7 separate regions of the Homo sapiens genome follow, and all the other regions are linked to region 7. Evidence: promoter capture Hi-C in 16 types of primary human blood cells and fetal thymus (Javierre and others, 2016). All regions are on one chromosome and are shown on one strand. Each heading gives the region's core, a stretch centred on a gene start or on the middle of the fragment in contact. The rest is flanking DNA. Distances are from core to core; before and after follow the strand shown.

What was found. Contacts are between HindIII fragments. The CHiCAGO score rates a contact against its expected background, and 5 or more counts as called.
Region 1: a contact is called between a fragment that was not itself captured here and the fragment with the promoter of LENG1 in region 7, in 7 of 17 cell types (activated CD4 T cells, non-activated CD4 T cells, naive CD4 T cells and 4 more). The highest score is 10.4, in activated CD4 T cells.
Region 2: a contact is called between a fragment that was not itself captured here and the fragment with the promoter of LENG1 in region 7, in 1 of 17 cell types (fetal thymus). The highest score is 5.1, in fetal thymus.
Region 3: a contact is called between the fragment with the promoter of KMT5C here and the fragment with the promoter of LENG1 in region 7, in 10 of 17 cell types (fetal thymus, naive CD4 T cells, activated CD4 T cells and 7 more). The highest score is 17.3, in fetal thymus.
Region 4: a fragment that was not itself captured here is called in contact with the fragment with the promoter of LENG1 in region 7 in 1 of 17 cell types (fetal thymus); the score reaches 5.8 in fetal thymus.
Region 5: a contact is called between a fragment that was not itself captured here and the fragment with the promoter of LENG1 in region 7, in 1 of 17 cell types (fetal thymus). The highest score is 6.8, in fetal thymus.
Region 6: the fragment with the promoter of ZNF580 here is called in contact with the fragment with the promoter of LENG1 in region 7 in 5 of 17 cell types (activated CD4 T cells, non-activated CD4 T cells, fetal thymus and 2 more); the score reaches 12.5 in activated CD4 T cells.

What each region holds. Positions count from the first base shown.
Region 1 is chr19:55,601,563-55,604,453 of GRCh38, reverse strand. ZNF524 (zinc finger protein 524) reads right to left here. Exons shown (of 2, transcript NM_153219.4): 2 at 1,316-2,379. The coding sequence starts at 2,341. The coding sequence ends at 1,547. Among named protein-coding and RNA genes, the nearest start is that of ZNF865, 2.6 kb to the left of the region's middle. RefSeq lists enhancers at 1-185, 1,289-1,839. The HindIII fragment of the contact is 3,453 bases long and covers 1-2,891 here.
Region 2 is chr19:55,620,467-55,623,166 of GRCh38, reverse strand. It overlaps ZNF784 (zinc finger protein 784), which reads left to right. Exons shown (of 2, transcript NM_203374.2): 2 at 523-2,426. The coding sequence ends at 1,416. Among named protein-coding and RNA genes, the nearest start is that of ZNF784, 2.7 kb to the left of the region's middle. The HindIII fragment of the contact is 1,720 bases long and covers 450-2,169 here.
Region 3 is chr19:55,338,396-55,341,143 of GRCh38, reverse strand. It overlaps KMT5C (lysine methyltransferase 5C), which reads right to left and starts at 1,268. Exons shown (of 9, transcript NM_032701.4): 1 at 1,187-1,268. RefSeq lists a silencer at 1,117-1,176 and enhancers at 1,197-1,266, 1,576-2,349, 2,350-2,748. The HindIII fragment of the contact is 2,060 bases long and covers 1-1,771 here.
Region 4 is chr19:55,386,916-55,389,615 of GRCh38, reverse strand. RPL28 (ribosomal protein L28) reads right to left here. Exons shown (of 5, transcript NM_000991.5): 4 at 1,568-1,686; 5 at 1-1,373. The coding sequence ends at 1,284. MIR6805 (microRNA 6805) reads right to left here and starts at 1,435; the gene lies at 1,374-1,435. The HindIII fragment of the contact is 1,611 bases long and covers 547-2,157 here.
Region 5 is chr19:55,251,890-55,254,618 of GRCh38, reverse strand. All of the region lies in intron 1 of PPP6R1 (protein phosphatase 6 regulatory subunit 1), which reads left to right. Among named protein-coding and RNA genes, the nearest start is that of PPP6R1, 5.8 kb to the left of the region's middle. RefSeq lists enhancers at 352-461, 472-691, 922-1,001. The HindIII fragment of the contact is 4,391 bases long and covers 1-2,729 here.
Region 6 is chr19:55,639,563-55,642,464 of GRCh38, reverse strand. ZNF580 (zinc finger protein 580) reads right to left here and starts at 1,463. Exons shown (of 2, transcript NM_207115.2): 1 at 1,282-1,463. LOC107983998 (a long non-coding RNA gene) reads right to left here. Exons shown (of 2, transcript NR_171683.1): 2 at 1,666-2,339. It also overlaps a transcript of ZNF581 not described here. RefSeq lists a silencer at 1,094-1,613. The HindIII fragment of the contact is 9,119 bases long and covers 1-2,902 here.
Region 7 is chr19:54,158,382-54,161,081 of GRCh38, reverse strand. LENG1 (leukocyte receptor cluster member 1) reads left to right here and starts at 1,361. Exons shown (of 4, transcript NM_024316.3): 1 at 1,361-1,518; 2 at 2,621-2,700. The coding sequence starts at 1,387. TMC4 (transmembrane channel like 4) reads left to right here. Exons shown (of 15, transcript NM_144686.4): 13 at 49-204; 14 at 537-615; 15 at 708-974. The coding sequence ends at 776. RefSeq lists an enhancer at 1,359-2,028. The HindIII fragment of the contact is 1,716 bases long and covers 67-1,782 here.

The sequences.
Region 1 (2,891 bases), core at 110-2,609, 1.4 Mb before region 7:
GGCTGGACGCGGTGGCTCACGCCTGTAATCCCAGCACTTTGGGAGGCCGAGGCGGGTGGATCACGAGGTCAGGAGGTCAAGACCAGCCTGGCCAAGATGGTGAAACCCCGTCTCTACTAAAATTACAAAAATTAGCCAGGCGTGGTGGCGGGCGCCTGTAATTCCAGCTACTCGGGAGGCTGAGGGAGAGAACTGCTTGAACCCGGGAGGCAGAGGTTGCAGTGAGCCAGATTGCCCCACTGCACTCCAGCCTGGACGACAGCAAGACTCCGTCTCAAAAAAAAAAAATTAGCTAAATATGCTGGCGCCCGTCTGTAGTCTCAGCTACTCCGGAGGCTGAAGCAGGAGGGTCGCTTGAGCCTGGCAGGTCGAGGCTGCAGTGAGCGGTGATAGGGCCACTGCACTCCAGCCTGGATGACAGAGCGAGACCCTGTCTCAAAAAAAAAATTATCCGTCCTCCTTGCCCCACTCTCACGCAGTTCCTCCTGTTCTTCCCCAGCTCCAAGCCCCTACTCTCTATTAGATCAACTCTATCCATCCTCTTTAAACCGCTCTCACTTTCTGCGGACCAACCCCTAAACCTCTTTAAGCCCCACCCAACTCTAACCCTCTTCTAAGCCCCCGCCCCAGGTCCCAGCCTAACTGCCCCGCAATCTCAGCCCCACCCCTCGCTCCTTAGCCCCGCCCCAATCCACACCCCTTATCTCTAAACCTTACCCAGACCGTCCTGCTCATACCTTTGTCTTAATTTTTCCTTCCAAACAGTAGGTCCTCAGGACAAGGAGGTGGGGCAAAGTGGCTGCAGAATTTCTGGGAATTGGCTAGGAGAGAGGCGGTCGGACCTACAGTCAGGTCTGCATGGAAGGTTCAATGTTTTTAGTTAGATTGGATGTGTACTGGGAATACAGCTGACCCTTGAACAACAGGGGTTTGAACTGCAGGTCCATTGAGAGGCGGACGTTTTTTCACCCAAACACCGGTGGAACATACAGTATACGAAGGGCGGATTTTCCTACATCCGCGGGTTCCGCAGGGCCCACTGCTGGACTTGTGTATGCCCAGATCTTGGTATCTGCGAGGTTCGTGGAACCAATTCCCCGCGGACTCCGAGGGACCCATGGACTTTGGGGTCTGATGGAGATGGGGAAGGGGCCAAGGTTCCCCCCAAAACCATTCTTTGGCGAGCACCACGCTCATGAGGCACAGGAAGTGGGGTCCTCTCCAATTCCCCGCACTCCCGACAGGACGGTGTAGCCGAGGAAGAACATTTGAAGGCAGGAGAGGATGGCATCCCGGCACGGAACACACACAGGCAGCCAGCAGGCAGAGATTTATTTCCACAGCCCCTGCCTCCAAGGGTCTGTTAGTCTGGGGGAGGGGGGCTGAAGGCAGCTGGACCCCAAAGTTTAGGTCTCCACCCTCCACCTGCTCCCACAACGGGAAGACCACCGGAAACAAGGGTGTCCCGGCCCCCTGGCTCAGGCCCAGCACCAGCCAAACTCCCTGCTCTAAACCTGGCCCAGGGAGCGATGGCCGGGGGTGTGGGTCAGGCCGGCTCCCCTTTCCCCTCTGTCTCCTCCTCCTCCTCGGCCCCTGCTGTGGCCGGGATGCCCTCCTCGTCCCACGGCGGTTCAGACCCTGGATCTGGTGCACACAGGGGTACCCCCATGGCCTCCGGGTGCTTGCGCTTCGCATGGCGCCGGAGCGTGTTGGCCTCTGTAAAGCGCAGCCGGCAGATGGGGCACTGGTACGGGCGCTCCCCCGAGTGCACGCGGTGGTGGTGCGCCAGCTCGCCCGCCTCGCGGAAGCGGCGGGGGCACAGCGGGCAGCGGAAGGGCCGCAGGCCGGCATGGATGTTGCAGTGCCGCCGCAGGTGGCTGGAGCGCTTGAAGGTCTTGCCGCAAACCTTGCACTGGTGCGGCTTCAGCTCTGAGTGCGAGATGCTGTGGCGCTCCAGGTCGGAGAGGTAGGGGAAGGCCCGCAGGCACACCGGGCAGAAGTGTGGGGCCTTCCTGGGGCCAGAGCCCTCAGGCCCAGCCGCTGAACCTTCAGAGACCGTATAGGGCACACCCTGATCATCGATCAGGAGGAGGTCGCTCCCGCCACTGCTGCCTACTGGGGCTGTCACCCCCTGCACCTGCACCAGTGGGGGCTCCTGCCCTGACTTGGGGGGGCGGCCCCGCTTGCGAGGGAGGGAGGCCTTGAGTGTCCGATTTGAGGAGGTGGCTCCCCCAGGACGACGGCCTCGGCGGCCCCGGGGAACAGGAGGAGATAAGGCCAGAGGTTTCTCTTCCTCCCCGGGCAAAGGCGAAGGCAACGGGTCTGGGCTGGGGGTGTCCATTGAGCAGTGGGGGGCTTGGGTCTGGGCACTGGAGCCAGCTAAGAGGAGAGAGGGGCAGAGTCAGTGCTCACAGGGTCTAGAGCACCCCTGTGTCCCCCAACACCTCGCCCATCCCTCTCTCCAAGTCTCTTGACAAAGGTGTGTTTGACATTCATCCAGATACACAATTTTAGCTATGCTGGTGGGTAAAACAGTGAGATGATCTTGTATCAGCTGATAAACAGGCACTTCCCTGAGCTCCACCAGACATCCCTATGCCTCCCTAACTCTCCTTCTGGATCTAGAAGTTCAAGATCAACATGAGCAACACCCCTCCCCACCTCCCCACAAAAAAAAACCTTCCAGAGAGGATAGAGTCCAACTGAGAGTGCAGACCAGTATTGTGATCCTTGAAACGGAGAGCCCATCAAACTCCAGAGCCATAGAGGCCTCACGAATGCTCTCATCCCTCCCTGCTGACTGGCAGAAGTGGGGAAGGGGTTCCAGAGTGGAAAAAAGGGACTGGTCCCAGGTGATATTTGACCCTGATTCCTGGATGAGGAAACATATC
Region 2 (2,700 bases), core at 60-2,559, 1.5 Mb before region 7:
TCTTGTTCTGTCGCCTGAGCTGGAGGGCAGTGGCATGATCACATCTCACTGCAACCTCCACCTCCTGGGTTCAAGCGATTCTCGTGTCTTAGTCTCCCGAGTAGCTGGGATTACAGGCAGCAGCCACAACACCTGGCTAATTTTTGCATTTTTAGTAGAAACGGTATTTGCCATGTTGGCCAGGCTGGTTTCGAACTCCTGACCTCAGGTGATCTGCCTACCTCAGCCTCCCAATGTGCTGGTATTACAGGCCTGAGCCACCGTGCCCAGCCAGAAATAATTTTTTTTTAACTAGCTGGATGTGGTGGTGCATGCCTGTAATCCCAGCTACTCAGGGAGATGAAGTGGGAGGATCGCTTGAGCCCAGGAGGTCAAGGTTGCAATGAGCCACGATCGCGCCAGGGCAACAGAGTGAGGCCCTGTCTGAAAATAACAGAGGAGCCCAAGCTTTAATAATTGGGGCGTGCTGGGGCGGTCCTGAGGCAGGTTCCACAGGCTCCTCTTTCTTCTCCTCTTGCCCAGGTCCTGGTGCCTGATGACTGCCGGCCTGGCACACCCCCGAGTGACCTCATCGAGATCCAGGTGGTGAAGGTGACGGACACCACGCTGGTCCCTGAGCCCCCGGAGCCAGGTTCTTTCCACTGTGCCTTGTGCCCTGCTGCCTTCCGGCTGGTTTCCGAGCTGCTGTTCCACGAACATGGCCACTTGGCTGGGGCCGAGGGAGGCGGGCAGGGTGGGGACCCGAGCCGGTGCCACGTGTGCGGCCACAGCTGCCCGGGCCCCGCCAGCCTGCGCGCGCACTACAGCTTGCACACGGGGGAGCGGCCCTACCGCTGCGCGCTCTGCCCCCGCGCCTTCAAGGCCTTGGCGCCCCTGCTCCGGCACCAGCACCGGCACGGGGTGGAGCCGGGCACCTCTCGGAGGCCTCCGGACACAGCGGCCGTTGCAGAACAGAGGCCCGGGGTGGCCCCGGAGAGGGCGGAGGTGGTGATGGCGGCGGCGGCGGCGGGCGCAGCGGTGGGGAAGCCTTTTGCCTGCAGGTTCTGCGCCAAGCCCTTCCGCCGCTCCTCAGACATGCGAGACCACGAGCGCGTGCACACTGGCGAGCGGCCATACCATTGCGGCATCTGCGGCAAGGGCTTCACCCAGTCCTCGGTGCTTAGCGGCCACGCCCGCATCCACACTGGCGAGCGCCCGTTCCGCTGCACGCTCTGCGACCGCACCTTCAACAACTCCTCCAACTTCCGCAAGCACCAGCGCACCCACTTCCACGGGCCGGGGCCGGGGCTGGGAGACTCTGGAGGCCAGCTGGGCTCGTCGGCGGCTGAGGGGTCGGGGAGCGGGTGTGGGGTAGGGGACCCTGCGGAGGAGGGGCGGGGGGAGACCGCGAAGGTGAAGGTGGAGGCCGACCAGTAGGCTGCAGACCAGGGACATGGGTTAGTTAAGGCGGAGGTACGAGGCCGACCCGGGGAGGGGGACGGGGTGGGGAAACGGAGGCAGGGGACAGAAGAGGGGAGATTGGGGGAGAGATGACAGCTGCAGGGATGGTTGTGAGCCGCTAGTGATGGAGAGCAGAGGGAGAGGGCCAGGCTCCAGACTCCCACACGCCCACACAGCACCTCTGCCAGGCCTAGGAGAGGACAGGTGCAGCTCTTGCAGCTCTGCGGGTGTGCGGCCAAAGGCAAGGCCCACGGGCTGGATGTCACTTCCCCGACTGTCTCTTGGTTGGCTTGTCCTTGTGCAAGACCCAGCCTGTCACGACAGAGCCTGGGCACTTCAGAGGAGGAGCCAGGATCGAATGGAAGGGGGGAATTGGGGTCCACCATAGTCTTCTGCTCTGGTCCTCCACGGGTGGACCAGGATGGAGTCTCCTGCCTACCTCACTGCATTGCACTGGACCTGGGATGCCTATCCACCCTCTGGCAGAAGACACTCACCAGGTTATCTGTGAAGAGACTCTGGGATCCCATCACCTCAAAGCCAGAGGGTCCCCAAGTCACCGCTGAGAGCACTTGAGCCTCAAGGATGTAAGCCTGACCATAGGATCTTGACTCCAACAGCGGCAACCCCCACCCCCATTGTGGTCCGTCCTTAACCCATCCACTCTTCTTCGGAGGCAACTGAGAACACATAAAGCAAGCAGCTACCTAGCATCCCCCTCCTAAAGCTTTAGACTCAGAGCCCAGGGTCCCCCACAAGCCTCAAGGTAGCCTCAGGTTTCTCTAATTTCCTCCACTCCCAGTTCGAAGCAAACAGCTTACTGCCTAGTCCCCGCCAATCCCAAGGGCGGGCTGGCTGATGGCAGCATGGTGGGCTGGCCTGGGTGTGGAGTGAAAGAGTCACTGTGGTGGGGGCGAGAGGAGGACTTGGGAGCTGGAGGTGTGACACCTTCAGTTCTGTTCCTATTAAAGGACCTTCTGAAGGGCTTCTCTGTCGGTCTTGTATTCGGATTGTCCGCTTTGGGGAGTTGGGGGAGGAGGGGCCTCACCATGGTTTTGCCACCAGCAGTCAGTTGCATCATCTCTTCCTCCAAGCTTCTGTTTCCCCATCATCAGAATGGGGGGTGAGTAGGCCCCACTGTGGTTACGTGTTATGTGGTTCAGCTGTAGGAGAGGGGGGTCAGGGAAGTTTGGCAAAAGCACACTCAACATGCTTTGCATGCTTGTTGAGTGAGAGCCTCTGATTTGCACACCTTTCTGT
Region 3 (2,748 bases), core at 19-2,518, 1.2 Mb before region 7:
AAGCGGAGCCAGGAGAGAACGGAGAGATGAAGAAAACCACCCAAACCCCTAACCCGGACGGAGGGCCAGCCTCGTCCCCGCACCACGGCGCTCGAGGCTCATCCGCGCCCAGGAGAGGAGGAGATGGGGCAGGGCAAGGAGCGGGAGCTGCAGAGACGGCTGTGGAGGGGTCGGGGACAGACTGCGAGGCTGCGGGAGAGAAAGAGGGGGCGCTGCAGGAGGACGCCAGGGACAGCGGGGAAGCTGGAGAGGGGGCTGGGGGCAAGGAGAGAAACGCACAGCGGTGGGCACGGCAGGGGGCTGTGGGAGGGAGAAGGCTGCAGCCGGGCCTGGGGGCGCTCAGAGGGGTGTGAGGAAGGGATGGGGGTGCCAGGGAGGACAGAGAGCGGGGAATGGCCTAGGGACTCAGGGAGGAGCCAGACGGGAGACCTGGGTCGGGGGGCGGTCCAGGGATGGCGGAGAAGATCCTGGGTGTCCAGTGAGTGAAGGGCCTGAGAGGGCGGACAGGGGCCCAGGGATCCAAACGGGCTTGGTGGGGTCCTGGGGGATCCAGGAAAGGGAGACCCTAGGGAAGGGCCTGGGGACCCAGGGAGGCGCCTGGGTAGGCGGTGAGAGCCCAGGGCAAGGGACCTGGAGGGTCAGAGGCCGACCTCAGGGTCCAGGGAGTGCCAGGAGAGGGACAGAGGGGTCAGGGAGAGGTTCTAGGGCACAGAAAGACCTAGAGGGTCCAGAAGGAGGCCTGGAGGGTGAGAGGAGGTCGGGGATTGGCCCTGGGAGTGCAGGGAGGTCCCGGGGGTGAGAGAAGGGTCAGGGAGAGGCCCTGAGGGTGCAGGGAGAGACCTGGGGGTGCAGGGAGAGGCCTGGAGGGTGAGGTCAGGGAAAGGCCCTGGGGGGTGCAGGGAGAGGCCTGGAGAGTGACAAGAGGTCAGGGAGAGGCCCTGAGGATGCAGGGAGGGCCGTGGACGTAAGAAGGGGGTCAGGGCCCGGGTGAGGAAGCACAGGAAGGAGGCTGCAGTGCCGCGGAGCCCGAGGCCCGGCGAGGGGCCGGGAGACGTGGGCGCCTGGACACGAGGAGGGGCCGGGCGGGGTGGGGGGCAGTCGGGGCAGGGGGCGACTGGGGAGCCAAGGCGGCGCGGGGCTGGGGCCGTGAAGGGGCTCAGAGATCGGGCCCCGCGCCGCCCCTCACCCGCTTCTCCTCCTCCTCCTCAGGCGCCCGCGCCGCCGCCGCCAACACCTCCCACAGCCTCCTTCGGCTCTCGTCAAACACTGTCGCCGCACCTCCCATCTGCTCTCCGGGCCAGCCCCGCCAAGGCCACTGAGGCTTTCTATTGGCCACAGCCACCGCCACTCCTCCGTTGCTACGAAGCTCACGGCGCTCCCATTGGCCAAGCCCCACTCTTTCCCTCCGCGCCCGGCTCTCGTCAATACACAGATAAAACCCCGCCACGCCCCCGCCGCCGTCAAACGCCGCGAACTGTTGTCAGTGGTTCACATCGCTGTCCTTTAGTCGCTGCCATGGAGACTTGTCCCGCCTTCGCTCACACTGGGGCTCGAAATCGACGCACTCATTGGCCGAAAGCGCAGTCTCTCCGGGCGAAACTCGGTTTGGGTCGGGTTATTCAGGTCCAAGTGGAAAGAGGGCGGGCTCTGCCAGCTCCAGTAGTCGTATATGATTGCCTGGCCTTGGGACAGCTCCTCTTTCCATTGGGTAAGGCCTCCGTCCATCACCATAGAGTCGCGGCCTCCCTCTTCTATTTCTCCGAGGAAAGCTTCGGCCACAGGAGGGAGAAAGCCAGACCCGGCGGGAGGGAGGCGGTGAATGCGCGCGCACCGCCATCCCTCTCCCCTCCCGCCCCGCGAGGCCTGCGGTTACCAAGGCGACGAAACTTTATTGACAGCTCTGCCTGGCTACAAAGGGCTCCTCAGTCTCTCTCCCTCCCTCCCCGTTTACACCGTTGCGTTTTGGGAGTATCCACACGCACTCTGTGGGACCTTCCCGCGATATGAACGGGGTCGGATGGAGGGAGGGGAGGCTGAGGGAGGAGTGGGGACTTTTGAGACAAGCCCTGACTCCTGGGGCGCTCCCCTGGGGCACCCCCTAATTGGGATCACCCCCCCTACCTCAATCCTAGAGGCAAACGTAACTAACAATTCATCATAATTACGCCGAGAATAATAAGCTCCACACTCAGAACAGGCGGTCTTTGTTTGCTTGTTTGTTTGTTTCGCCACAGCCATTCTTCCCTTAACGACACTGATACCATCTGGGCAGTGCGTGCTCAGGCGATGTCGTCATCCTGCCAGCATCCTAGAGCAACATCACTCACACCTACGTGGCAGGGCTGCTGGCACCTGGGCTGTAAGGTGGCCGGCGGCTCCTGGGCCACACAGCTGTGCAGCATGTTACTGTCCGGTAACACAATGTAGGCGCTTGTGTGTCTACACATATAGGATCACTGTCAGACATGCGCTCCACTGTACAGCTATAGATCGTGGGCACTTAAAACAATGCATGCCACAGAGTAGGTGCTGTTTTGGTGTGCTGTTTTTGGTGTTTTGGTGTGTGTGTGTGTGTGTGTGTGTGTGTGTGTGAGAGAGAGAGAGAGAGAGAGAGAGAGAGAGAGAGAGAGAGAGAGAGAGAGACAGAGACAGAGTATCGCTCTCTCGCCCAGGCTAGAGTGCAGTGGAGTGATCTCGGCTCACTGCAGCCTCTGCTTCCCAGGTTCAAACGATTCTCCTGCCTCAGCC
Region 4 (2,700 bases), core at 103-2,602, 1.2 Mb before region 7:
CAAAACGCAGGGCTCCCAGCCCCGTACGACCCCAACCAATGGCAAGTCGAGGCCCTGACAGTCCCCTTACTCTCAGTCAGAGCCGGGGGTGGTCTCAGACAGGGAGCAGAGTCCTTCTTTGAATCGGGTACCCCAGGATGGCAGGAACCAGGGGTGCCATGGATGCTGGATCCTTGGTCCCTGGCAGTGGCTGACAGAGTTAGGTGCCCAGGAAACATGTGAGGATCAACAGCAGGACTCTTTCCCCATCCAGGCCTCACTGTGTGTCATGGTGTCTTCCAGGCTGGAGTGTAGTGGTGGGGCTCATGGGCTCACTGCAGCCTCATACTCTTGGCTCAAGTGCTCCGCTCACCTCAGCCTCTACTCAACCTCTGAGGAGCTGGGACCACAGGCGGTGCACCACCACACCCAGCTAATTTTATTTTAGAGACGGTGTCTCATTATGTTGCCTAGGATGGTCTCAAACTCCTGGCCTCACAAGCTGTAATAAACACTAGGGAGCAAACAGGCCAAAGGAAACAAGAGGGCTGGGCAATCAGGAAAGCTTGGGTGACAGGGTGGCCCAGGAGCGGCCACTGAGATGAGACCTAAGTGACAAGAGCCAGCTCAAAGAGACAGGGGAGGGATGGGGACACCTGGAGGACGGGAGTAGGGGGACAATGCTAAGGCTGCTCAATGCCTGCTGGCTGTACCCTGGGGCTGCCATCTCCCTTACAGTTATAAGCCACCACCCACCAAGTTGCCCATCTCAGAGATGAGGTTGCATCAAGTAAAGCCCATCCCCTCCAAATGTGGCTGCACCCACTCCCTGGATGCAAAAGTCATCTCATCTTCCTCCCGTGATGTCTGTCGTCCCCCAGGTCTTGGGAACACCCCAAGTCCCCAAACCGTGCTACAGCACCAGGGCCCAGGGCCCAGCCCTCAGCCTGCACCCTTCTGGGCTAGAAAAGGCCTTTCTTCTTCTGAATGGAAGCCACTGCCCCAGCTGGGATTCTTCAGGCCACCTCACAATGGGACAGTAGGTCTCAATCACAAGTCAGCAAACTTTTTCTGTGAAGACAGTGACCCTTGCCCTCACCAGGGACAAGGCAGCTACCCCACCCCTCCTGCATGGCCAGCCATTGACATCACCTCCAGATGGACAAGGTGACATGCAGAGTTTTGATGACATGGCCTGAATGACAACACACAGGGCCAGAGCTCCCCAGAGCGTTTCAAAAAGGGAGGCCCAGTCGAGGCAGGTGAGAAAGCCAGCTGACTTTATTGCTCTGGGGGCAGGGGGCTCAGGAGCTCTTGGTGGGGCGGGTCCGCTTCCTCTTCACCATCACAGGCTTCTGGCTGCGCAGGATGGCGCTGGCCCTGCGGATGGCTGCCTGGGGGCGGGGGAGCAGAGCAAGGCTCAGCCCATACACTCCACAAGCCGCCCCCTAGGCCAATGCTGGGTGTGGGGAGTAGGCTGAAAGCAAGAATCCATCCCTCTCCAGCCCATATTGCAACCAGTAGTGGGAGGCCCTTCCCCACAGCACTGGCCAGTCTCCCCAAGCCTGATCCCCAAACCCCAGCTCACCATGCGCAGGTCGGGGCGGTACTTGTTCTTGCGGATCATGTGTCTGATGCTGCTGAGCGTGGCGCGAGCATTCTTGTTGATGGTGGTCCGCACATAGGAGGTGGCAGGCTTCCGCTGGCCTGGTTGGGGGTCAGGGAGGTCCTGGGGTCAGTCCACCTAACCTGCACCTTTAGCACACCTCGCAGGTGTGGACAGTCTCACATTGAGAAGCTGAGCAGCGTGGGCCCGTGGCGGGTGCCTGGGCAGGCCAGCAGGTAGCTGTTTTCCCACCTGTCCATTTCACAGAGGCTCACTCGTCATCACGGAGTACTGAGGACACAGCTTCTGCCACACTCATAGCCCAATTCTGTCCACCATGAAAACACTCCTTTCTCATGCCAGAAAGCTGCCGCTTCAGTTAGGATCTGATCCAGGTCCAGCCAGAGCCCACGCTCCTGGCAATGGGTATGAACAGCTTCCCAGGAACCCCAGGCCCATCCCCACAGCAGTGGTTCAACATCAGCTTGGCTGAGAGGCCCAGCCTCACTCAGGCCAGTCCCTTAGTCTAGGAAGGGCCACCCATGTATTCGGCAATCCAAGAGGTGAAAGCTTTCAGGACTCCCCAGAACGGGGTCCCCAAGTGCCAAGCAATTGGCTGCTCCCTGGACTACGTGTCCCTGAGACAGGAGGATCACTAGCCAACAGACTGCGTTTGTTGCTGCCACTGAGTAAAAGGACCCTTGGCTCTGAGGCAGTTCCAATCAAGGACCTGAGAAAAACTCACTCTAAAAAGAAAATACAGCCCTGTCAAGAACACATGTGAAGCTGGACTCCTCCATTAGAGACCCCCGACTCACACGAACATTCAGGGAATCCCCAAAAAGGCCTGCACCTGACAGCACAATGTATGGAGTGGGGTCCCCAAGACCTCTTCTCTAACCTACACAGGCAAAATGGGAATCAAATGGCTGCAACCAACCCAGCCTGTCCCCTCCTAAGTGTGGTAGCGAGGGCCCCTCCCCTGTTGTGCCTCAATCTTCCCACCTGTGGGATGAAACCATCCATCCCCACCCTGACTTGCTTTGAGAATTTCATCTGAAAACATCAACCCCGTGCCTTAACTCTCAACAACCACCGAGGAAGTTCAGGTCCTT
Region 5 (2,729 bases), core at 169-2,668, 1.1 Mb before region 7:
CCTCCATTTCTGGGTGCTCGTGGGTCAGCGCAGGTTGGGAAGGGGTGACAGATGAAGCATGGGCCCACCGGTTCCCTGGCGGCAGAGCTGTGCTTGGGCGGATACGTGCAGCAGTGGGGATGGCTCTGTGGGAGCCGCAGTTAGTGCCTGTCCAAGCAGGGGAAGGAAGGGGCTGGCAGGCCCTTGAGGGGTGGCTGGTGTTGAAGGCCCTAAAACACCACAGCTAAGTCAGAAACCAGAGGCAATAGTGCAGAGCTGGTGGAGGGAGAGCGGCAGAGGTAGTTTTCGTTTTTAATGGCTTCCTTTCTCATTTACAATTTCCCCTTCTTCCGTTTGCAGCCAGACTCATGGTTTTCAAACGGTAGCTAAAAACTAGTGGTAGTCACTTCCGCTTTCTTGAAGTTGCTAAAAGTTGCAAAGAATGGGGGTGGCGGGGTGCATGGCGCCTGCCGTAGTATCCGAATGGTCTGAGGAAAAGTACTTGAGTCACTTAGGCAAATGGGTAGAGTCTTTCTCCTGCTCCTCTGTGTTTAGCACCATCACCTTTGGGGTAGTGACCGGTCCCCTACCTGTCCTGCCAGAAAGCATCTGGACGTGGCCTCAGGGTTGGACCGGAAGAGACTTGCACCTGCTGAGCTCCTGCTGTGTCACGGCCACCTGCTTTAGCTCAATGCCTTTTCACAGCAGCCCGCCCTGGTGGGCTGTGTCTCCTTTTCACGGATGAGGAAATGAGACTCAGAGAAATCAAGCGCCTGCCCAGGTTCACCAGGAGAGTGCGAGTGAAACCCACTCTCCTGCTCCATTCGCAGGGATTCTAGCAGGCTTCATTAGGTTGGGAGAGGGGACTGAGAGGGCTTCAGGCCATAGTGCATTCAGAGGTTGTGGTGGGGGAAAGTTTTTTTCTCTTTTTTTCTGTTCTTCCATATTTGCATCTTCATTCTGTTTAGAGCCTGATAATTGAGGTCTGTAGAGTGTCGACCACTCAATTGCATTTGAGCCTTTCAGTCTATTCTGATTTTCAGAGGAGCCACTTGAGATGGAGAGTTCAGGGCGCTGCCTGGGTTCTCAGGGCCGAAGTTCTTGGATGCCGTGCACCAGCGAGCACCCTCCCGTCTCATTCTGGCTGCCCCTGCCCCAGTTGTCTGGGGAGCTCGGTTTGGAGGGGAAGCCTGACCTTTTCCCCGAAGCAGATGGTTAGTCTGTACCAGGGGTAGGGGGTTTGGGGGCCGAGGGCCATGCCTGTGCCCTTTAATCAGGTATCTTAGAAGTGAACGGTGGGCCTCAGTGTGAGAATTTCTGCCTGTTGTTTAGAGACCAGGGCACACTGGAAGCCTCTTGCTAGCCATGTGGCTCCACCCCTCTGGGCCCCTCTTCCACATGAGACTCTGTCGGAATAATAAGAATTCTTTACTTGGTCTTGATGTGGAGCCGAGACAAGTGTCTCTGCAAGTGCGGGTCCATGGATTTTCTACAGATGCTGGCTTGGTGCTGCTCCTATCCCGTCCCCACTGTGGAGGGGCTCACTTAGCTTAGAGCTGTTGGTGGTGAGGGATGGGGAAGGGGTAACCTGGGTGAGTGCCCCAGGGCTGAGCCTTGGCAGCTTCAGCTCTGCCAGGCTGGCCGGCATCTCATCAGCTCTGCGGACGCTGGGACATAGTGCAAGGCCTGAGCCTGGCCCTGGCTCTGTCCCTGCCATGGCCGATGGCCTGAGGCAGGTTTTTTTTTTTCCCCCAACAGTTTTTATTGAGATATTCTGTACAGTTCATCCATTTAGAGTGTACAGCCAGGCGCAGTGGCTCACGCCTGTAAGCCCAGCACTTTGGGAGGCCGAGGCAGGCAGATCACTTGAGGTCAGGCATTCAAGACCAGCCTGGCCAACGTGGTGAAACCCCGTCTGTACTAAAAAAATGCAAAAATTAGGCCGGGCGTGGTGATTCATGCCTGTAATCCCAGTGCTTTGGGAGGCCCAGGCAGGCGGATCACAAGGTCAGTAGTTCGAGACCAGCCTGGCCAATATGGTGAAACCCCGTCTTTACTAAAAAAACACACACAAAAATTAGCTGGGTGTGGTGGCGCACTCCTGTAATCCCAGGTACTCAGGCTGAGGTGGGAGAATTGCTTAAAACCGGGAGGCGGAGATTGCAGTGAGCCGAGATCGCGCCGCTGCACTCCAGCCTGGGTGACAGAGCGAAACTCTGTCTCAAAAAAAAAAAAAAAAAAAATCAGCCAAGAATGGTGGTGCGCACCTGTAGTCCCCACTACTCGGGAGGCTGAGGCAGGAGATATGCTTGAACCCAGGAGCTGGAGGTTGCGGTGAGCCGAGATCGCGCCACTGCACTCCAGGCTGGGTGACAGAGAGAGACTCTGTCTCAAGAAAAAAAATAATAAATAAAGGGTACAATTCAGTGGTTCTTAGTGTATTCACAACGTTGTGGAAACATCACCACAATTGATTTTGGAACTTTTTTTTAATCACCCTTTCCTTTCAGGAACTTCGCCCAATCCCCGCCAGCTCCTGGAAGCCTGTAAGCTCTTTTCTGTCTCTATGGATTTGCCTGTTCTGGATGCTTCACATAGTTGGAGGCCTGCAGTGTGTGGTTCCTTGGGACTGGCTTTGCTGGCATGGCATGGGCAGCCTATCAGCCTGCTTGGTCTCCCACGGAGAAAGAGGCTGTGTGTGTGTGCTTGCCACGTCTCGGTGCTTTGCTCGCCACAGCCTTAGGCCGGAA
Region 6 (2,902 bases), core at 214-2,713, 1.5 Mb before region 7:
TGCCACTTCCTTTTAGGAAAAGTTTCCTAAAATGGAAAGCATCCCCACTATCACTGCTTGTTACCCTTTGTGCGCCACTGACTACCTCCCTAGCAAAATAAAAACTGTGACTCCAGCCCGGCTCTCCCACGTTCCATCAAGCTGCCTCGGAGAGGGCCTCCAACTGAGCTCTGCAAAACCCCGCCACCACCTGCCACTCCTCCTGGGTCCACCTCTCACCACTCAGGTCAGGTCTGAGGACGTAGTCCCCCGACTTTTCTTCCCTTTTCTCCTCTCAACCCACCCCAGCAGACAATCAATCCCTAAATCTGTTTACCTCTTTACATCTTAGACCCCGGGCCTCCTGACCGCCGAGATTTCTCTAATCTGTGGTTTCTTCTTTTTTCCTGTTGCCCAGCCCCAGTTCAGTTTACTTCCCCTCCCTTTGCCGCCCCCTACCCCCCCACCGGCCCCCGTATCGGCCTCCTGGCCCTCCGTCCCCACTACATGCCGCAGGGCCTCCCCATCTTCATATTCCGTGGCCTCCCTCACTTCCTCTCTAGGTACCTCCCCAGAGCCCCACTAACCCAATTCCCCACATTTCACTAGGGCTTTTCCATCCTGTTCCTACACTTAGCACCTCGAAGTCTAGTCACCTCTCCCCACTACGGAACCCATCGTCTTACTACATCTATACACCCCAAAATGGCTCAAATGCCTTCCTTCTGTATACCCCGCCCCCCCAACCTGGCTACCTGCTACATTCTCCCCAAAGGCCCCCTTTTCTCTCGCCCCCCATATATGGCGGTGACATCGTTACTTCTTTCTGTACCCATCAGGGGCCTTCTCCCAAACCCCGTTATGCACACCAGGCTCCGGGACTCCGCTTCCCACAGCACCTCTCCCAAGCCCACTTTCCCCTCCTTTCTGTGTACGTCTGGCATCTCTCTTTCTCCTCGTGTTCACCTCTTCCAGGAGCCCCATCCCTCTCCCTGTTACACACAGCGTGGTCCCCCGCCCGTTCTTTTGCTCTGCTCCCCTTGTTTATGGGAACCCCAGCGCCCGGGCGTTTTCGCCCCCATCCCGCTACACACCGCCTGTCCCCTGGCCCTGGGGCCCCTCCTATTGCCTTCACTTCCCCAAGGAGCCCTGGCGCCTCGACTTCCCCTCCCGTCCCTCCGCCCGATCCTGCCGCTCCCGACCCCCACCCCCATCCCGGGTGGCTCCAGCGCACTCCCCCAGCCTGCCTGGCCCCGGCGTCGTCCCAGGGCCAGGCTCCTCCCTCCATCCCGGCCCCCGTACCCCGTGCGGCGGCCTCTCGGGTCCGGAGGAACGGGCCGAGGTCCCGGGCGGCCCCGGGCTTCCCCTGGCGAGCGCCGGCGGCGGAACCGAGACTTCCGGGCAGCTCCGGGCCGGCGGCGCCGGGGACGCGGGGACTGGGGGCGCGGGGGTGCGAGGGGTTGGCGGAGTCCCTGGGAAAAGGCGCCGGCCGGAAGCGCGCGAGCCCAGTGCGGAGGTTCCGCCGCCTGGAGCCGGCGCTCCCACCCCTCGCCTCTGCGGAGCGCCCTGCGGGGAGGGGACCGGAGGCGTGGGGTCCACTGAAGACGCCCGCCCCCGGCGGCCCCGCTCCCCTCCCACCTCCCGAACGGAACGATTCCGCCGCTTGACAAGAGATCGGCCAATAAACCGAGACTAAGCAAAGTTACGTCTTCGCCCTAAGGCCCACAAGGGTTTGTCCTCTTTCCACTGGGCCGTCGCTGCCTGCTCGGCCGTGGCCACCCACCGAGGTAGAGGGCGGGAGAAGGGATGTTCCTGCCGGCTGAGCAAATGTGGAGACCGAGGTCCAGAGACCAGCCATTGGCTCCGATGTGGCCGGGCCGTGATTCTCCACCCAGCAAATGGGGAGGCCGAGGCCCGGAGAAGGCCAGACGCTGCCAGATAGTTGGGGAAGGTATGTTCTTTCCACGGGGCACATGCGGGAACCGAGGCCCACAGAGGGCCAGACGGCTGCATGCGCAGGTGGGGAGGTGTGATATTTCCAGAAGGCATGTGGCGACACCGAAGCGCAGCGAAGGCCAGGCTTTGCCAGATGCGGAGGTGGGAAAGGCTGGCACTGCCCACGGGGCCCACTGGAAGCCTGATGCGGGCTCGCGGGCTGCGCCAGGTCCTGGGGCACTTGAGGCCCGGGCGCTGGCTGCGCATGCGAAGGACTCCGGCGTCGAAAGCAACGCGCGGTGGCGCTGCAGCCGCACTGGAGAGCTGCACACGCGGCAGCACTCGGGGCAGCTGCAGCTCCTCCTCCAGCCACGTGGCGCCACGGCCTCGCAGGAGGGCGGCAGCAGCAGCATCTGCAGGTGCAGCTGAGAGTGGGGGACAGAAGAGGAGTAACTGTCACAGCGAGCCCCAAGACCCTGGGGTGCCACAGCTACATCCTAGAGCACTGTCCATCAGAACTTTCTGCAATGGTGGAAAGTTCTATGACAGTCACTAGCCACGTGGGACTCTTACACTCTTGAAATGTGGCTGGTGTATCAGAGGACCTGAATTTTAAATTGTATTACATTTCCCATAATCAGCACGGTGGCTCACACCTGTAACCCCAGCACTTTCGGAGGCCAAGGCGGGCGGATCACCTGAGGTCAGGAGTTCGAGACCAGCCTGGCCAACATGGTGAAACTCCTTCTCTACTAAAAGTACAAAAATTAGCCGGCCGTAGTGGTGCTCCCCTACAGTCCCAGCTACTTGGGAGGCTGAGGCAGGAGAATCGCTTGAACCCAGGAGGTGGAGGTTGCAGTGTGCCAAGATCGTGCCACTATACTGCAGCCTGGGCAACAGAGGGAGACTGTCTCAAAAAATACTAATTTCCCATAATCAAAATTTAAGCCACATATGGCTCCTACCTTATGGAACAATTCCAGAGACC
Region 7 (2,700 bases), core at 112-2,611:
GTGTTCAGACTCCTGGCACTATGTGAGCCCAGCCTGTCTTGACTTCAGGATCCCGCCTTCTAAGCTGTGTGGTCCATTCCGGGGGCAGTCGTCCATCTGGGCCCAGATCCCTGAGTCTATTTCCAGCCTCCCTGAGACCACCCAGAATTTCCTCTTCTTCCTGGGGACCCAGGCTTTTGCTGTGCCCCTTCTGCTGATCTCCAGGTGAGACGGCCCAGACTTCTGGGTCTGGGTTTGAATGCGTGTGATCTGGGGGCCACCACCTGCGTCCAAGAGAGGAGAGGCTTGGGCGTGGGAGCAGGCAACGTACTGAGTCTGAGGGAGGAGGCCTAGGCTCCTGGACTGCTGGGTCCGAAGGAGGAGGTGGGCGGGACGTAGGACTCCTGGATCTGAAGGCGGAGGGGCTGGGAGACTGAACTCCTTGAGCCCAGACGAGGAGGGGCTTAGGCGTCCACATCCCTGGCTTCGAAGGAGCCAGACGTTTGGATATAATGGAAGAGCGTGTCAGGAGTGGCTTCCGTTCCTGTCTCCTTCAGCATCCTGATGGCGTACACTGTGGCTCTGGCTAACTCCTACGGACGCCTCATCTCTGAGCTCAAACGTCAGAGAGAGACGGTGAGCCAGGCGGGTCCCTGAGAGGGCCCCTGGGGAACATGGAAAGGGGTTGGGGAAGAGGATTGTCTCACCTCCACCTCTCTTTGCCCCAGGAGGCGCAGAATAAAGTCTTCCTGGCACGGCGCGCTGTGGCGCTGACCTCCACCAAACCGGCTCTTTGACCCCCGCAGCCCACGTCCCGCTTTCAGACCCCAGGCCCATTGTAAGCCTAGGTCACAACATCTGTAAACTAGGAGAACTGGAGAAGACTCCACGCCCTTCCAGCTTTGGTATCTGGAGATTTCCAGGGCCCCTCGCCGCCACGTCCCTGACTCTCGGGTGATCTTCCTTGTATCAATAAATACAGCCGAGGTTGCTGAGCGCGCTTTGAAATCTGCGTCCTGAAGGTGGGGGCAGGGCTACAGCGGGGCAGGAGCCAATCAAATGTACGGGCATGTTTGTCGGTGCAGAGCGCTCTTCCGCAAGGAGACTTGTCGGTCATGTCGGCCAATCGACGGCCGCATCTGGTAGCATCAGGGGCGGGCCAACTTATGATTGGTTCAGATCTGTGACAAGAGGCGGTTGCTAGGGGATACCACGAGCCGAACGCCTAGCATTCGCTGTGATAAAGGGCGTCTCAGCCAATCACCTGTCGCTACAGGCCAGGGGGCCGTACCAACTAATTCGGAACCAATCCGCGGTCGAAGTAGGGACAAGAAAAAGGGGGGCATCCTCTCGCCAATCGGAAGTGCAAAGAGGCGGGCGTGCCAGTCCCTGGACAGCTACGACGCCATGAATATCTTGCCCAAGAAGAGCTGGCACGTCCGGAACAAGGACAATGTCGCCCGCGTGCGGCGTGACGAGGCCCAGGCCCGGGAGGAGGAGAAGGAGCGTGAGCGGAGGGTGCTGCTGGCTCAGCAAGAGGTAAGCTCGGAAGCCGGCAGGGCGGCGCTCCGGGGCCCAGCGCGCAGGCGCCGCGGTTGGGGGCCGGAAGCGGAGGCGTTGCGCAGGCTCAATGTGCCCCGTGTGAAATTCGGGACCAGGCGCCGATCCCACTTTCGAGGACGTTGCCCCGCAAACCTTGTGCCCACTTCCACGAAACCTTCCTTGATCTCGCCCTCGTCTTAGTTTTTCCCCCACTGATGTATTTCACATGGCTGGAACAGTGTCTAGCACAAAAGAGAAGCTTAACATTTAATGAATCCGTGAACCCTTGGACAGTTCAAGGAAATTCGGATCACTTTTTAGTTTGCCTGCACAGCCTATTTATTGAGCATCTACTGTATGCTAACTACATGCCGTGCACCTGACTTGCGGAATCCCCAATAAGCACTGTTCGTTCTTAGAGGGGCACTGTCATCTCTGTTGCACGAAGTGAGATGGCTTCAGTGAGGGGAAGGCACATTTTAAGGAGAGGCGGACAGCCAGGCTCCACGCCATCGGGCGAGCCCTTTCGTGCACCGCCCCCTAGACACATACACACAAACACGGGCTTTCCGTATGGCTCTTTAAATCTGTTTGGTGTACACCCAACTTTCATTTCCTTAGCTAGTCTGATCCTCCGCCGTGGGTGGGAGGTAGTCTAGGTTTTTAGAATCTCAGTAGGCTGCTGAGCGCTGTTTGAAATCCGCGTCCTGAAGGCAGGGGACAGGGCTTCAGCAGACTTGGGGTAGTCACTTGGAGCCATGGCTAGAATTCAGATCGTCTGGCCTAATGCATACCTTTATGGCTGTTTTAATTGTCTCACTTGAGGTTAGGAACCCCTTTGGTTTAGGCCAGGGACCTCCTCCCATACATCCTTGATGACCCGTGGTTTACTATTTGAAAGGGAGTTTACAAAACCCAGGCGTTGCCTCATCTGCCTACCCTCACCCCCAGCTAGGACAGGTGCCTCTTTTAGGCGCCTAGTGCTCCCTTTCTCATAACCCCAGCACCCTGGACTGCCATTTTCTGTGGTGGGCACCAGACTCACAGTTCTTGAATTACCTCTAGGTTCTGAATGTCCTGCCTATAACTTTCTCCCCAGGCCCGTACAGAATTCCTACGGAAGAAAGCCAGACATCAGAACTCACTGCCTGAGCTTGAAGCAGCAGAGGCGGGAGCCCC